Linked DNA regions of Homo sapiens: region 2 is linked to region 1. Evidence: promoter capture Hi-C in 16 types of primary human blood cells and fetal thymus (Javierre and others, 2016). All regions are on one chromosome and are shown on one strand. Each heading gives the region's core, a stretch centred on a gene start or on the middle of the fragment in contact. The rest is flanking DNA. Distances are from core to core; before and after follow the strand shown. Region 1 holds the start of EPC1 (enhancer of polycomb 1). Region 2 has its middle 140 kb from the start of KIF5B.

What was found. Contacts are between HindIII fragments. The CHiCAGO score rates a contact against its expected background, and 5 or more counts as called.
Region 2: a contact is called between a fragment that was not itself captured here and the fragment with the promoter of EPC1 in region 1, in 1 of 17 cell types (total B cells). The highest score is 6.5, in total B cells.

Annotation. Positions count from the first base shown.
Region 1 is chr10:32,344,054-32,348,999 of GRCh38, forward strand. It overlaps EPC1 (enhancer of polycomb 1), which reads right to left and starts at 3,105. Exons shown (of 14, transcript NM_001272004.3): 1 at 2,710-3,105. The coding sequence starts at 2,862. It overlaps EPC1-AS1 (EPC1 antisense RNA 1), which reads left to right and starts at 3,311. Exons shown (of 2, transcript NR_104163.1): 1 at 3,311-3,422. RefSeq lists silencers at 2,136-2,415, 3,086-3,555, 3,566-3,695 and enhancers at 2,636-2,735, 2,756-2,815. The HindIII fragment of the contact is 3,163 bases long and covers 2,186-4,946 here.
Region 2 is chr10:32,192,112-32,197,129 of GRCh38, forward strand. No RefSeq gene overlaps it. Among named protein-coding and RNA genes, the nearest start is that of KIF5B, 140 kb to the left of the region's middle. RefSeq lists a silencer at 4,048-4,241. The HindIII fragment of the contact is 1,314 bases long and covers 2,393-3,706 here.

The sequences.
Region 1 (4,946 bases), core at 1,855-4,354:
ACTAATGTGTCAGTTAAAGGCAGAAGTTTGCTTTAACCCTTCCTCTTTATTAGAAGTACAAAATACTTCCGCACATCAAAAAGTTTGTTTTTCTATGGAGAATCCAGAATTCAATTACCTTTATGTTTAATATACCTTTTCAACACTGCATAACACACTACTTTCAATATTATGATTTACACACCCTACCACTAACAGCATGAACCACAGGACTGTAAAGCAGCTTGTTTACCAGGTACTTTTTACATTCTTCCATTAGGTTCAGTGTCTATTCTTGAGGTCTATGCTTCTCTCCTCATACATAGCTTTGGTTGGATGTGAAGTGAAAAATTCTAAACAGATATTTGGAAAAGGCAATCTGAAGAAAAAAAAAAATCCCTGTGTTTCAAAATTAGGGACTCCACATGTTACAAACTATTGATAGCCACTGCAGTATAAAATGTCAAAATTGGCCGGGCGCGGTGGCTCATGCCTGTAATCCCAGCACTTTGGGAGGTCGAGGCGGGCGGATCACCTGAGGTCAGGAGTTCAAAACCAGTCTGGCCAACATGGCAAAACCCCGTCTCTGTTAAAAGTATAAAAATCGGCCGGGCGCGGTGGCAAGCGCCTATAATCCCAGCTACTGGGGAGGCTGAGGAAGGAGAATCACTTGAACTCGGGAGGCGGAGGGTTGTAGTGAGCCGAGATGCTGCCACTGCACTCCAGCCTGGGCAACAGAGTGAGACTCCATCTCAGAAAAGAAAAGAAGAAAAATCTAAATTATTTCAGCGAATAAAAATTACCCGTAAAATTTAACAAGCACTGATACTTCATTGAGCTCAGCTCTGACTTCAGGTTGTAACTCTTGGGACTGTCCAAAGTATTCACAGAAGCAAGACTTAACTAAAGTCTAAAGTGTACTGTTGTGCTGTCTTGCTTTAATCAAGGCTTTCCCCTTCCTTGGCTGCTGAACAAGAATTACAAATTAATTTCCAGGGCAGGGTAAAACCAACACCCCAATACTTGAAAGTATTATCTGTAAAACTTAGAAATAAAAATAAAACCAAAAGACAAGATTCTGCAGTCACAAGTACTTTAATTTTTAAAAACAAATCACTTATTAAAAAATAAACAAATGGCCATGCTACTCTAAAGTTGATACAAGTAAAATAAATTAAGAGGTAGTGTCTCATGAGACAATGTGCTGAAAGTCAGTGCCCAACTAGACAATCTGAGCTACTACATACACTTGGCTTATCTGTAAAGTTAGATTTAAGACACTACTCTCAAAAGTAACATTTCACTGTCACAGCTATTTCACTTTAAAAGGTTAAACAACCCAAAGAGTTTAAACAGTTTTATTTCCAAAAACAACATTACAGAGCATAATTTCTACATTAAAAATTCTTACAGTACCAAGAGAAGTATTACAGTACAATTTTCCACAACAAAATTGTAGCACACAAATCCACGCGACTCCTGGACTTCCTTGAACTGTCAATACACTGCACCCTGTTTAAATGGCTGTACCTGAAAACCAAGGTATGCAATTCCTTAGGATTAGAAGTCATCAAGTTATACTGTCAAGGATCTGGGGGAAATGAGAGGAAGATTCTATTATCCTGGTGTCCGAACCCAACTTCCACAACAAGGTAAAGCCACAGCGATGGTAAAATGTCTATTAGTTGTCAACATTTACGTGCTGAAACCCACCCAATTTAGACATCTCAATATTAAGATTTCTGTGAATCAAGTCACTTAGTTTTAGTTCGGTTTTGAATAAGAAAGGATCCTCCTTCGAAATTTAGATCTATAAAAGTTACTTAAATTGGGTCTTTTCTCCCCCTATGTTGAGATACCAGAGAGCAGGAGAACTTAAATTTATTTTACAAATAGGTAAGGTTACAGGCTTCAGAAGAGAGAGGTACTCCAAACAAATCTGCAAGATATTCGCAAGGATCACAGAAAAAGTCAGGGATAGTGGTTTATTATCCTCCGACCAACTAGCTCTGGAGAGGGATGGATACAAACGTCCCAGAAAGAGGACACTGAAAGTAAGTCTTATCTTCTAGAAAAGTAAGTCGTCCGGGCAAACACGCTGCACCCTCGACATTTCCTTGCAGAGGGGGAGAAAAGCCTCATAGAGCAGCAGGCGACATGACATGCCCGTCTGAGGCTCCACGTGGGGGCTGCACTGAGCCCAACAAGCTTCCCAGACCATGGGGCAATCAAATTCCCCGACTGTGCACAGAACCTGCGCTCCCGGCCCGGGCAGCGGCGCGCAGGCCGCAGTGGCCCTGGAGCGCCACCCAGCGGCCCACGGAGAGGCCTGTAGGCGGGTCCTCCACGGCTCCCGACTCGCCGCACCCCCACAGCCACCCAGCCCGTTCCCCTCTCCGGATGCACAAGGCCCAACCCAAGAACTAAGACACAAAATGGCTGCCGGCAGCTTCGTCACGTGACCCCTTTGTGCCTTTCGGGCCCCCGAACTCCGCGGGACCCGGGTACAAGTGGCCAGGGTCAGCGGGTGGCCTTAGAAGGGGCCCCGCTGGGCCGCGGCGGCCGGGGGTCGAGGCTGGGGGAGGCGGGGTATAGGCCCGGCCGGCGACTGAGAGTCGGCGGCGAAGAGAAGATGGCGGCCATTTTGTGTGGGTTTGCTGCTCCGCCGCCGCCGCAGGCAGCAGAGGGAGCGGGCCTGACGGTGGGTCGGACAGGGGAGTTAACACGTACCGACTCCTCTTCCTTCTCCATTCCGGTGGGCATCTGCGGCACGGCCCTGTTTATCGAGGCGTATTCGTGCAGGTCGGGCAGATCCTCACAGCGGAAAACCGGCAGCGGCTTCGAGGCGTCTAGCGCCCGCGCCCGAAACGACAGTTTACTCATCTCAGGCGCAGCAGATACCTCTCCGCTCTGGGGAAACGGCCCCGGCCAGCGGGATCATGGAGAACCGGGGGTTCGGTCCCCACTCGCCAACCGCTGCCGGGGACTTGAGGGGCGGAGCGCAGAGCCCGCCGTCCGGGCACTAACACCAGCCGGGAGGGTGGGAGGCTGTGCCGCTCCGCTCCTCTCTCGCTCGCTCTCTTCAATACGCCATGGCCAACATGGCGGACATTAAAACTCCACTGTGCGCTCTTCAGCCAACCCCAGCCATTCCCCACACTGCATCGCGCAGCGGCGCGGGCACGCGGGCGGGGGGAGGGAGCGCGGGCTCGAGGCCGGCGCCGGCACGAAGCGCGCGTCCCGCCAACCCCCGGCACCCGCCGGCCTCGCTTCCCGCGCCTCGCTGCTCCGGGCCCCCGCCCTTCGCGGGTCCGGGGGCGGACAGGGCGGACTGGGCGCTCGGACACCGGGCGCCGGCTCTTGGGTCGTGCTCTCCTGCAGCGCACACGCTCACTTTCTCACGCTCGCTCCCTCCCGGCGCCGCTTTCTGACGGGCGAACAAGGTGCGGGAAAACTCTCTCCACCAGCACGCCGCCGTTTGGAAAGGCAGCTGGGGAGAGTGGCAGGCGGGGCTCGGGCCCCGGGCACCTGGGGCTCGGAGGGCTCGGACCTCTGGGGTGCTCGCCAGCGGCTGCCCCGGGGCCACGGCCGCCCCCACGGGGCTTCGGAGGGGCGCTCCAGAGGCGCCGCGCGCCGCCGTCTGCCGCGGGGGGCGAACGCACAGCCTAGTTCCCGCGGCGCCTTAGGTCTTTACGATAAAAATACAAACTGAATTAGGGGCAGATGCTACTTTGAGTAAACTTTTATCAGCAGTTATTTTTATGTCCTAATGCAACTTTGGATTATAATGTTTTATAGGCACCGCATCAAGTCATTGATCCGTTTCCCACGCATTGGGCTTAATATAAATGATAGGTATCCTATTCTACAAAGTAGATTTTTTTAAATCCTGCATTTTCATCTACACATATTTACTTTTTAAATAGTAACTGAAGCAAAGGAAATTATTACCCACCACTATAACATTTAAAAGCAAGATCTACTTCAGAATTTAAAGCCAGTTCTTTATATCTAGCTCATGATTCTGTACTCAAAGAGACTGCGGCTTCATCATAGCCGTGGGTTCACACTTTCATCATTTGTCCTCTGAAAAACTTTGTAACATTGAATCATATAAAGACCTGTCGTACTCCCGCCAAACAAAAAGCTGAATTATTAGATTTAGATGGATATGATAGATGGGTGGCATCGGTTTATATTACACATGAAAATGGGTATCCTGAGATCTCTTCGTTGTTGTTGTTGTTAATAGGGAAGATTGTTGGGGTGGGTTTAATAAATTGGCAGCCAAATTTCAATTCGAGTTTCAATTTGTATCTTAGTGCACAATTTTGTATCTTGTGCAACAAGATACAAAAAGATACAAAAATGTTTTGAGTTGCTTTTCTCCCTGGGAACTACGTAGTAAAAGTAATCACGCTCCTTAAATACTGGGCTTGATATGAGCTGTCACTAGCTTAGGGCACACAGGCAAACTGCTAGCCTCCAGGCTGGTTTAGCCAGCTCCCGCGGGGTAGGGAGAAAACAGGACGGATTGCAGTTCTCCAAAATTATACTTAAACTCCGATATTGGCAGCTCACTTAAGTGAGGCATAAGGACGTTCACCTGCATTTCCTACACAGAGACCGTGCCTTTATTCATTCAATGAGTATTGAGGGTGTGTATTGAGCCCTCATAGCCTTCCAAGTCAGCTTGGCACCCACAGGGCTCCTGGAGGAGCTTACACAGTGGGGAGAAGGACCCGCGAATGGCAACTGCCACACGGCGAGCTAAGTGTTATGGTGGAAGCCCAGGCCACTGTGGGAAGGGGCAAGAGTGGCGCCCAACCCAGGAGAGTAGTTCTAATGAAGTAGCAAGGGAAGACTTTTTGGAAGAGATGATATCTGAGTAAAATTATGTAGGATAAGTGTGGGTTAACTTTGCAAAAAAAGTAAAAATGAAGGGAAGAAAGGTATCTTAAGACAAC
Region 2 (5,018 bases), core at 1,800-4,299, 150 kb before region 1:
TAATCCCAGATACTCAGGAGTCTGAGGTGGGAGAATGGCTTGAACCAAGCAGGTGGAAGTTGCAGTGAGCCGAGATTGCACCACTACACTCCAGCTTGGGTGACTGGTCTCAAAAAATAATAATAATAAATTTATTAATAATAAAATTAAAAATTAAAAACATCTTTGAATCAAAGGACACTATCAACAGAGTGAAATAATAATAAAATTAAATTTAAAAACAAACTTTAATTTGGTAATGGGTATCTGCAAAAAACCCTACATTAAATCTTACTAATTTTTTGGTAATTAAAGGCAATTTTAATAGAAAACTTGCTATTCTATTATTTTTCCCAATACAGTATTTTTTTTTAATTATGGTAAAATATAATGAACATAAAACTTACCATTTTAGCCATTTTAAGCGGCATTAAGGTACATTCACATTGTTGTACAACCATCATTGCCGTCCATCACCAGACATTTTCATCTTCCCAAACTAAAACTCTGTACCCATTAAACAACAGCTCGATTCCCTCAGTTTCCCAGGCTCTGGAAATCACCATTCTGCTTTCTGTCTCTATGACTTTGTCTACTCCAGGGACCTCATATATGTGGAATCATACAGTATTTTGTGACTAGCTTATTTCACTTAGTCCTGTAGCTTATTTCACATAGGATAATGTCCTCAAATTTCATCCACATTGTAGTATGTGTCAGAATGTACTTCCTTTTTAAGGCTGAATAATATTCCATGGTAGGTATATATCACAATTTGTTTATCTACTCATCCATCAATGGACATTTGGGTTGCTTCTACCTTTTGGTTATTGTGAATAATGGTGCTATGAATATAGGTATACAAATATCTCTCCAAGGCCCTACTTTTGATTATTTTGGGTGTATACTCAGAAAGAAAACTGCCAGATAATGTGGTAGTTCTATTTTCAATTTTTTGAGGAGCCGTCATGCGATTTTCCACAGTGGCCGCACCACTTTACATTTTTACCAGCAGTGTAGGAGGGTTCCACATTCACCATTTCTTGCCAACACTTGTTATTTTTTGCTTTTTGTGTTTGTGATTTTTGTTTGTTTGTTTGTTTTTGAGAGCAGCCATTCTAATATGTATGAGGTGGTATCTCATGAGGTGGTTTCGCTTTGGATTTCCCTAATGATTAGCAATACTGAGCATCTTTTCATGTGCTTATTGGCCATTTGTGTATCTTCTTTGAAGTTCTTTGCCAATTTTTAAATTGGGTTGTTTTGTTGTTGAGTTGTGAGAGTTCTTTATATATTCTAGCTATTAACTCCTTATTAGATATATGATTTGCAAATGCTTTATCCCATTCCATGGGTTTTTGGCTTTTCACTCTGTTGATAGTGTCCTTTGATTCAAATAAGTTTTTAATTTTGATGTAATCCAATTTATGTCTTTTTTATTGTTGTCTGTGTGTTGGTGTTATATCCAAAAAGTCACTGCCAGATCTTATGTCATGAAGATTTTCTTGTATGTTTTCTTCTAAGAGTTTTATAGTTTTAGGTCTTATATTTATGTTTTTGATCTATTTTGAGTTAATTTTGTATATGAGTCCTACTTCATTTTTTTTGTATGTGGATATCCAGTTTTCCCAACATCAATTTTTGAAAAGACTGTCCTTTCTCCATTGAATGGTCTTGTCATCCTTGTTGAAAATCATTTGACCATATATGCAATGGTTTATTTTGGGGCTGTCTACCCCATTCCATTGGTCTATATGTCTTTTTTTTAATGCCAGTACCACACTGTTTTGATTATTGTAGCTTTGTTGAAATCAGGAGGGGGCGAGTCCTCCAGCTTTGTTCTTTTTTAAGATTGTTTTCAGCCAGGTGCGGTGGCTCACACCTGTAATCCCAGCACTTTGGAAGGCCGAGGCAGGCGGATCACGAGGTCAGGAGTTTGAGACCAGCCTGCCCAACATGGTGAAACCCCATCTCTACTAAAAATACAAAAATTAGCTGGGCATGGTGGTGTACACCTGTAATCTCAGCTACTCAGGAGGCCGAGGCAGGGCAATTGCTTGAAACTGGGAGGCGGAGGTTGCAATGAGCCCAGATGGTGCCACTGCACTCCAGCCTGGGTGACAGAGTGAGACTTCATCTCAAAAAAAGGAAAAGACTGTTTTGGCTATTTGGGGTCCCTTGAGATTTCATATTAATTATAATTTTAGTATGGATTTTTCTATTTCTGCAAAAAATATCATTGGGATTTGGATAGGATTTGAACCTGTGGATTGCTTTGCATAGTATAAACATCTTAACAACAGTAAGTCATACATTCTATGGACATGAGACCTTTTTCTATTTATTTGTGCCCTAATTTTATTCACCAATGTTTTATAGTTTTTATTGTACAAGTCTTTCGTCTCCTTGATTAAGCTTATTCTAAGCATTTTATTCTCTTCGATACTATTATAAATAAAATAGTTTTGGCCAGGTGCAGTGGCTCACACCTGTAATCCCTTTGGGATTACAGCCTGTAAACTTTGGGAGGCTGAGGCAAGTGGATCATGAGGTCAAGAGATCAAGGCCATCCTGGCCAACATGGTGAAACCCCGTCTCTACTAAAAATACAAAAATTAGCTGGGCGTGGTGGCACGTGCCTGTAATCCCAGCTACTCTGGAGGCTGAGGCAGGAGAATCACTTGAACCCAGGAGGCGGAGGTTGCAGTGAGCTGAGATCGCGCTACCGCATTCCAGCCTGGCAACAGAGCGAGACTCTGTCTCAAAAAAATAAATAAATAAATAAAATAAAAATAAATAAATAAAATAGTTTTTAAAATTTATCTTATCAGATTGTTAATTCTTGGCATATAGAAATGTAACTGACTTTGCATGTTGATTTTTTATCCTGCAACTTTGCTACATTCATGTATCAGTTCTAATAATTTTCAGAAATATTTAGGGTTTTCTTTTTTTTTTTTTTTTTGAGTTTCGCTCTTGTTGCCCAGGGTGGAGTGCAATGGCGCGATCTCAGCTCACTGCAACCTCCACCTCCCAGGTTCAAGCAATTCTCCCACCTCAGCCTCCCGAGTAGCTGGGATTACAGGCATGAGCCACCACGCCCGGCTAATTTTGTATTTTTAGTAGAGACAGGGTTTCTCCATGTTGGTCAGGCTGGTCTCGAACTCCTGACCTCAGGTGATCTGCCCGCCTCGGCCTCCCAAAGTGCTAGGATTATAGGTGTAAGCCACCGTGCCCGGCCTATATGTAGGGTTTTCTAAATGTAAAGTCTTATTATCTGTGAACAGAAATAATGTTTTTCTTCCTTTCAAATATGGATGCCATTTACTTGTTTTTCTTGAGTAATTGCTTTGCCTAGACCCTCCAGTACTGTGTTGAGTGGAAATTGTTGGCCGAGCACGGTGGCTCATGCCTGTAATCCCAGCACTTTGGGAGGCCGAGGCAGGTGGATCACCTAAGGTCAGGAGTTCGAGATCAGCTTGGCCAACATGATGAAACCCCATCTCTACAAAAATACAAAAATTAGTGGGGCATGGTGGCAGGGGTCTGTAATCCCAGCTACTAGGGAGGCTGAAGCAGGAAAATCACTTGAACCTGGGAGGCAGAGGTTGCAGTGAGCCAAGAGCCAAGATCGAGCCATTGTACTCCAGCCTGGGCGACAGAGCAAGACTCCGTCTCAAAAAAAAAAAAAAAAAAAGAATTGTCTTGTTCCTGATCTCAGGGAAAAAGCTTTTAGTCTTTAGCCATTGACTATGATGTTAGCTGTGGGCTTTTCATATATGACCTTTATTATGTTGAGGTAGTTTCCTTCTACTTGTTCAGTGTTTTGTATCATAAAAGGGTGTTGGATTTTGTCAAGAGTTTTTTCTGCATCAGTACAGATTATCATGCGTGTTTCCCTTTTCAATCTGTTTTTATGGTGTATTATTATTATTATTATTATTATTATTTTGAGACAGAGTCTTGCTCTGTCCCCCAGGCTGGAGTGCAGTGGCAAGCAATCGTGGCTCACTGCAACCTCTGCCTACCAGGTTCAAGCGATTCTCCTGCCTCAGCCTCCCGAGTAGCTGGGATTACAGGAATGTGGCACCACACCTGGCTAATTTTTGTATTTTTAGTAGAGACGAGGTTTCACCATGTTGGTCAGGCTGGTCTCAAATTCCTGACCTCAAGTGATTTGCCCGCCTCAGCCTCCCAGAGTACTGGGATTATGGGCATGAGCCACGGCTTCTGGCCTATGGTGTATTATTAATACATGGATTGATTTTTGTGATTTGAGCCATCCTTCCATTCAAGGATAAATTCCACTTGGTCATAATGTATAATTCTTTAAATGGGCTGTTGAATTCTATTTGCTAGTATTTTCTTGCAGATTTTTGCATCCCAGTGATTTCTTTTCTTGGAGTGTCTTTGTCTAGCTTTGGTATCATGATAATGCTGGCCTCGCAGGGTGAGTTAAAAATTATTCTCTCTTCTTCCATTTTTTTGAAAGAGTTTGAGAAAGATTGGTGTTAATTTTTCTTTAAATGTTTGGAAGATTTTTTTCAGTGAATTGTTGGGAGGTTTTATATTGCTGATTTAGTCTTCTTTATAGTTCTAGGTCTGTTCAGATTTTCTATTTCTTCATAATTCAGTCTTGGTAGGGTATATGTTTTTAGGAATTTGTCCATTTTATCTGGATTATCCAATTTGCTGGTGCATAATTGTGCATAGTACTCCCTTATAATAATTTTTATTTCTGTAAAATTAGTAATAATGTCCCCTCTTTCACTTCTGATTTTAGTTGAGTCTTCCTTCTTTTTTACTTCCTCAGTTTAGCTACAAGTTTGTCCATTTTTTTATTCTTTTCAAAAAACCAACTCCTGATTTTGTTGACTTTCTCTATTATTTTTCGATTCCTGTTTTGTTTAACTCTGCTCTAATCTTTATTATTTCCTTTCTTCTGCTGGCTTTGGGCTTAGTTTGTTTTTATTTTTTTTCAACTTCCTTATGGCATAAAGTTAGGTTGTTGATTTGAGATCTTTCTTCTTTACTAGTTT